Regions from separate parts of the Homo sapiens genome. Here region 2 is linked to region 1. The links are contacts of gene promoters, found by promoter capture Hi-C in human tissues and cell types (Jung and others, 2019). All regions are on one chromosome and are shown on one strand. Each heading gives the region's core, a stretch centred on a gene start or on the middle of the fragment in contact. The rest is flanking DNA. Distances are from core to core; before and after follow the strand shown.

Region 1 (3,712 bases), core at 509-3,008:
GGAATTACAAGACATCAAAGGTTAGATAATGGACAACAGGTGCCTTTGAGGAGGAAAGAGTAACACAACACTCAGTTGCCTCCTATTTTAGGATTTCCACTCTGAAAGCAATATAACGACAATTTTTTCTGCCCAAGAAAAAGGGAAGGCCAAAATTATAGGTTTTACTATTTAATATCTATAATAGGCCCATTGCTCTTTGACTTACTTTTTTACTTTAGATTTTAAAAATCCATCTCATCTCGATATTATCTGGATATAGTACGGCCTATGGCCAGACTGCTCACTGATCAGTGAACATTAACCAAGTAGAGACTTATTATCAAGAAATGTAAAAGAAAGGCGTCTGAATACAAGCTACCTGCACATAAAAAACTCAAAATACAGTTCCAGCAGTAGGTATCACACAACTGCGTTATCAGCCAAAGCTGAAACTGTTTCTCTCACCATTCTAACAGTTGAACTTAATCTTTTACTAGATTTCAATGGCCTCGAAGAATAGTAATTCCAGATTCAGCTTCTAGGGCAGCGAATACTAGCCTGGAGTTTTGATTTTCCTAGCCAGAAGATTACCTTCATCTGGTGAAAGGAACACTGAAAAGGCACTTCAGCCTATTTAATAACCTCTTCCCTTTCTCCATTCCACAAAGACAACATCTTCCAAAAATGGAGAATCCTTTCCTTCCCTGATAGAGGCCCCCTTTCCTATTGATTCATTGGGCAGAATCACTTCTCCCCAGCATGTATGCAGAACCAGAAAACACTTCTGCTTTCACTCTTAAAGAGGGTCCCCCAACACAGATGCACCTCTTCCTTTCCTGCATTAAGCAAATGATGCTCCGATGCTTCTAGGTCTCTCCACCACTGCAAAATGCTCAGAGAAGTGGAGGGATTGAAAAGGAAGTTGCCTACTACTCTGAAGGATACTGGAAAGTCGCCTTCAAATCTAAAGTGAAGACTTGGGGGCGGGGGATGCCCCCTTCCTGAAGAGGGAATGAGGGTCCCTCCCCTAAAAAGGAGCCTCTGTTCGGGTGAAGGCGATCCCCACCCTGAAAGAGAGGCGTGTATGTGGAAAGGTGGTGGAAGGTTGTACCCTGAAGAGGAGCCTGGATTTGAAGAAATGTCCCAACTCTGAAGGGGGGTAAGTGGAGGGAGCCGTGAGTGTACGGGGAGGGGTGTGCCAGCTATCGGGGGGCCTGAGAAGGAAGGGGTTCCCACTTTGGGGGAACGAGGGCCCCGCACTGAAAGGGGCTCCGGGAGGAAAGGAGGGTCTGACACAGAGGAGAGTTGGACATGGGGGAGGGGCCCTCAGTCCACCGGAGTCCGCGGAGGGGCGGCAGCCTCGAAGGGAACATGTGCAGTGGAGCCGCTGCCACCCCGAGGGGCAGGCGGGAGGGCAGGGCCTGGGCTGTGTGCGGAAGGAAAAAAGTTCCTACCCTTCGCAGAAGACGCAGGACTCCCCAGCCGTACTCACCGAGACTGCCGGCGAAACCGTCCATCTTGCGGGGAAAGCGCCGGGCTCCGGGCTTAGAGGGGCGGGCACTTCATTCAGCGGACCGACAGAGTGGCCGACGCTGAGCCTGACCCGCTCGTTCTCTAGGTCGCCCGGCTCGGCTACCGGCTCCCGCCTCCGTCGTCCGTCCGTTCGCCCTGGGGTAGTAAGCCGCGGCCGCCCGAACCACTTCCCCGTCACGTTGAGAGCCGCGCCGCTCAGCCGCCTGCCCGGCCTCCCTCCCAGGCAGCAGCCGCGAGCGCCGCGCCGCGCCGCGCCCCGCCCCGCCCCCGCGCCCGCGCGCAGCAGTAGCCCCGCCCCGCGCACGCCGTCACACTTCCGACTCCGCCTCCCACGTGACGCCACGGAGGCGGGGTCTTGCCAGCCCCGCCCTCTCACCTTGCCTCGGCCTCGGCGTTTGTCCGCCTCGCGCCAGGCTGGTGGTTGCGCCTGCGCGGTAGGCCTGCTGAAGGCTGGGGACCACGGTTTGGAAGCTGGTTCCAAACAGGTGGGGATAAGGCATAGACTCTGGCCTGCGATACTCTGATGCATGAAGGATCCTCTCCCTATGTGGCCCCTGGGAAGCCCGCAGAGCCAAGACTGGACCCCCGTGACGGGAGATGACCACCACGTGGGTCCTACAAGGACACTAAAGAAGCAACCAAGAGGGAGAGGTTCTCCCTCTCCCCCAATAGGGTGGGGGACAAATAGGGGCGAAGCTTCTTGACTAGCTCGATACCACCACTGCCACAGCCGCAGGGCCCGGGACAGATCAGAAGCAAGGAATTTTAGTGCTGGACATGACCCAAAAGTTCATCTTGTCTAACCCTTCTTATGAAGAAAAACACAGAGCCTTAGAGAGGACAACCTGCCCAAGGTCATCGAACCTAGTAGAAGCAAAAACTCAGCCTTCCTTACTCTCCCTAGCGTTCTGTCGTCTAGGGGTGCAAAACGACCATATATGGCAGGCTATAGGATGGCCTGCTAGGGAACCATAATAAGGGTTATTTCAAATGAAGTAACACTGAGTTCTAGGCCCAACTCCGTATGACTCAAGAGTGTCAAATCACCTAATTTATTTAGGCGTCACTTTATTCATTTGCAAATTGGTTGTCTGGACATGTAACCAAAACATGTAAATATACATAGCGTTCATATTCTTCCTCCCTTCCCCAACACGATTTCCCATACTTCTAAAGACTTTCTCATGGTTTGTCAAGTCCCTCCTGGGGCTCAGTTGTGCAGATTAGAGTAAGAGAGAGAAGAGCTGTAAGGTACTGAAGAACTGAATTGATCTATACATAATAAATTGATAAATACATAATAAAAAGCTGAGTTAGGGGAAAACAGAGTCCTACTACACAGAGTTGCAGGAGAGAGGGACAAACAAGAAGGGAGACAAGAAATATGTAATGATGAGAGAGACTTAGAGGAATTAAATGATTGAAAGGATTGTTAAACCTTCTTGGGGTATACGTCTCCCTTTGTTGCCTCTTTAAAAATCTTCCCTAAAAATGTAAATTACTTTGCATTTCTTATTTGGATATAAGACCTGTTTCTGAATACCATACTATATGGAGACTGGCCATAACGCAGCCAAGATAAATTCAGGTTACAGACTAAACGGTGTCTAAAATTTCCTTCTCTTCAAACTTAAATGATTTACCCAATGTTCCTTCTGCTATGGGCATTTTCATATGCATAAGTTTCTATTAAGCCTAAGTAAATGTTTGAGAAGTTCTCAATTCTGACAGCTGTTCCTTTGTGTCTTCAGGCCACACTCTCTGCCTTAGGTCGATTAAAAGAATAAGAACTTGGCATATTGGTATACATATGTTTTATGGTCCAGACCTGGAAGTGTGTACCTCCCTTTTGTCCACATTCCACTGGCCAGAACTTGGTCACATGACTGCAAGGGAGGCTAGGAATGTAGTCTGTGTATCCAGAAGGAAAAGAGACATATTTTGGTAACAGCTCTCTGGTTTCTGCCACACTCCCCTTCGTGGCATTCATCAGAGTTAAAATTTTTCATTTGCTTGAATGATTTATTCAATAAGCATCTCATTCATTATACTGTATACTACAAGGAAAGCTGTTAAAATGTAGGAGAGTTAGTACATCCCAGCAGTTAAGAGTGCAGACTCTGGAATCATGCTGCCCAGATTCACATCCCAACTCATCATGTACTAGCTATGAAACACTGGACAAATTACCTAACCT
Region 2 (3,463 bases), core at 334-2,833, 340 kb after region 1:
GCTGAAGGCTTTATAAACATCTCTTTTAATCCTCTCACCTCCATGAGTTCACTGTTAGGATCCTTATGTTACAACTAAGGCTCAGGGAGACTATGCAAGTTGTTTGATGATAAAGTGCATGAGTGGCAGGCAGAGCCAGAATTTGAGCCCGGGTCAAATGGGACTCAAACTAGTGCATGGAGAACGACTAGCCCACGTTACCTCTCTAGATTGACACTCTGTTTCGTGCCCTCTCCTCCCCATTTTGAATCTACCTCCATCTCCCCTCTTCCTCTGCATGGGGTCCCTTTATTTCTCCCTCCCAAAGTCACTGGGGTCCAGTGCTCCCCCCAGCTCTTCTCCCCAGTTATTACCCAAGGAATGGCCCTACTTCAATCATGTATGCTTTAAGGCTGTAGAGGAAAAAGTTGAGTTATTTTTCATATTGTTTAAAAATGTTTCTGCTGTAATCACTCTTTATATTTACTTGTGTCAAAATCAGTACCAGGAAAAAGATGGGTGATTTTTCATTAACCCCAAGAGGATCTGAATTGTTTTTATACTGGTTAATTTAATTATAACAAACTCAGTGAAGTCACTCTGTTAAACAGTAAAACAGTTAACAGTGGGTTAAACATTACAAAATCCAATTTCCTATAACAAATAAACAATGATTGGGGAATGCAATTTCCTACAACGGATAAGTAGGTGAGTTTTATAGTCTCAAGGTTAAAGATTGTATAATATTTAACCATTATAGTTAGAGAAAAATCCTACAAGGGACCTCTGTACAAACTACTGAATTTTATGATGACAAGATACAGAAAAAATGTAAATCTGACAAAAAAGCATTCTACCCCTCCAAGCTATCTAATGTTTGTATTCTTAGTGGGTTTAAGTTAACTGACTGGTAAATATTTTCCAGTTCTTATCTGTATAACAAGGTGTAATTATTAGCTTAGTGCAGAGTATTCTCAAAGCCTCATGTCAATAGGTCAGTTTCTTAATCTCTCAAGACTGCTCTATGAGAAACTTGTGACTTCTGGTTTTTAACTGTAATTTTAATTAAAAGTTAATTTAAAAATTTAGGGTTTGTAATTTTAATTTCCATAGTATAAATTTAAAAGCCATTTGCATTTGACTTGCCTCTAGTTGACAAATAATATCTTTGACCCACAGATAAAGGAATTTTAAGAATTGCTCAAGGAAAAGTATTTTTTTCTGCAGTGGAACAAGGAGTAACTTTACGGTTTCTGAAATCATGACATTCAGAGATCCTTTCTGAAGCTGGCCTAGCAGGTTAATGCAATATGGGCATTGTTTTCTCGAAGCTGAGGTTACAGCAAACAGAGCACTCTCCTATATGTGAACAAAGAACGCTGGTTCATATAAGGGAGGGTGCCACACAGGGGTCACCGTAAGGTTGCATAAGCCAGAAAATGAGCCAGAGGGGACTGCTGAGTCCCAGGAGAGCTGCCATACAGGCTTGGATTTCTTAATTTTTTATCTATTCTTGTATAGTCTGTTAAAAACTATATCTATTGAGTCTTCAAAGCACTGTGCCAGCATTATAGCTATTAAGGTAAGCAAGATAGACTAGTATTCTCAAGTGACTTACAGCTTCATGGGGAAAACAAATAGGTAAATAAGTAATTGTGAAAGGGTGTGATAAGTTTCACAACAGGGAAAGATTAGGGTGTTGGGAGAACACAGCAGGGGGGACCCAGCCTCATCAAGTGGAGGTCGGAAAGTGGCCTTTTCCGAGGTCTGAAGGATGAGTAGGGGAAGCCAGTAGAGGGAGGAGTTTAGGAATGAGGTTCCAGATGGGAGTTCTTCTTGTGTGAAGTCCTAGGAGCAAAAGATAATGCAGTGCATTGGGAATTGAAAGAAATTTACTGTGGGAGGAGAGGAGGTAGTTGCAGGGTGTGAGAAGCAAGCGGGAGAGTAGGCTGGAAAGATAGGTAGGGCTCCACTAGACAGGCCATGGTGAGGTGAGAGTTTAGCTAAAAGGCACTGAGAAGCCACTGAAAGGCTTAAAGATAGAACATGATGTGGTGAGTCATATTTTAGGACTTTAGTTGTTTTTAGGAAAATAACTCATTGTGATTGAAAGAAGAGATTGGAAGGAGACACAATTAGGGGCAGTGAGACCAGTTAGGTAGCTATTGCAGATTTTCAGTTGACAGATTTTGAGAGTCTGGACTAAGGCAGTGTCATTGGAAATGCAGATAGGTAGGAGGGCATTGAGAAGGTAAATAGGCTTGGTGAAAAATTCAATGTGGATATGAGGAAGAAGAAGAATCTAGTGTGGCTGGTGTATGAAAATGCCACAGATTGAGCTATTCAGGAATAGATTTGAGATGGGGAGGATGATGTTCAGTTTTGGACTCGTTGAATTTTGGTCCATTTTGGGCTTGTTGAATTTAGCAGGATGTGAGTTACATGGGTCTGGAGCTTGAGAGACTTGTATGAGCTGGTAATATAGATGGTAAATGAAACCTGGGAGAAGGTATAAAGGGAAAAGAGAAGGGAGACTAGGACAGAATACTGAAACATCAGCATTTGAGTGACAGGGAGAAGAGAAATGTCCTATGGCCAGAGAGGAGGAGGAAAACCAGGGAAGCCTGGGCCAAGGAAGAGACCGTTTCAAAAAGGGAGAGGTTAATGTATCAAATGCTGAGCACAGGCTAAGTAAGATAAGGACTGAAGAGTGTCTGTTGGAGCTAGTACAAGGTAGACCTTGGAATCTATGGTAAGAGAAGTTTAAGAGCAGTTGTGGGCCAGAAACCAAATTACACTGGAGTGGAAAGAAGAGGAAAAGAAGGCAGAGCATTTAATCAGTCTCCTTCAAAAGGAGAAGGGCTATGTTCTGAAAAGGACATGAGGCTAAGGAAACTTTCCCATCTCCTGATGGGAAAGAGGCAGTAGAGTGAGTAAGTTTGAAGATGCAAGAAACAGATGGCATAATCAATAAAATGAGGCGATGGGGAGTGGGATCCGAAAACTGAGGGGAGGAATTAGGCTTAAGTAGGAGGAGCTTTAATTTGTTGAGTGCAAAGGGGGCAAATATGAGCACAAATGTAGGCATCTTGCAGATGTGGAGGTCGGAATTTGCCACAGCAACCCACATTGGCTAAGAGACTTCAACCACTCCCACTATTCTAGCCCTCTGCCATTTCCTTTCAGCTGGGACAGCTTAAGACCAATTAAAATAATATTTTTAAAAGAGCTTTGAAAATGGTAGATGATTAGAAATGTAGTGAAGTGAAATGATTATGTGAAGTGGTGTGAAATGGTGGAAAAACTGGCTATGAAATTTACTTGTTGTGTGATTTTGGGAGGGCGCCTTCACCTCACTCAGATTCCTCAGTTTTCATTTATAAAGTAGCCTCTTCCTACCAGCTCTATAGAGTTATTGTTATCTTCCAGTGCAGTGGCTATCAGTGTGGGTTGTATGAGTATTGTCCATAAAGGGTGATGTGGG

What was found. The method cuts DNA at HindIII sites, captures the fragments that hold promoters and counts their contacts. A contact is called where the count stands out against the background at its distance.
Region 2: a contact is called between a fragment that was not itself captured here and the fragment with the promoter of EML4 in region 1, in 1 of the 25 tissues and cell types used here (liver).

Annotation. Positions count from the first base shown.
Region 1 is chr2:42,167,399-42,171,110 of GRCh38, reverse strand. It overlaps EML4 (EMAP like 4), which reads right to left and starts at 1,758. Exons shown (of 23, transcript NM_019063.5): 1 at 1,475-1,758. The coding sequence starts at 1,499. It overlaps EML4-AS1 (EML4 antisense RNA 1), which reads left to right and starts at 880. Exons shown (of 4, transcript NR_110584.1): 1 at 880-1,141. RefSeq lists silencers at 1,747-1,806, 1,907-1,956 and enhancers at 1,372-2,024, 2,037-2,176. The HindIII fragment of the contact is 12,178 bases long and covers 1-3,712 here.
Region 2 is chr2:41,825,687-41,829,149 of GRCh38, reverse strand. No RefSeq gene overlaps it. Among named protein-coding and RNA genes, the nearest start is that of LINC01913, 50 kb to the left of the region's middle. The HindIII fragment of the contact is 7,189 bases long and covers 1-3,463 here.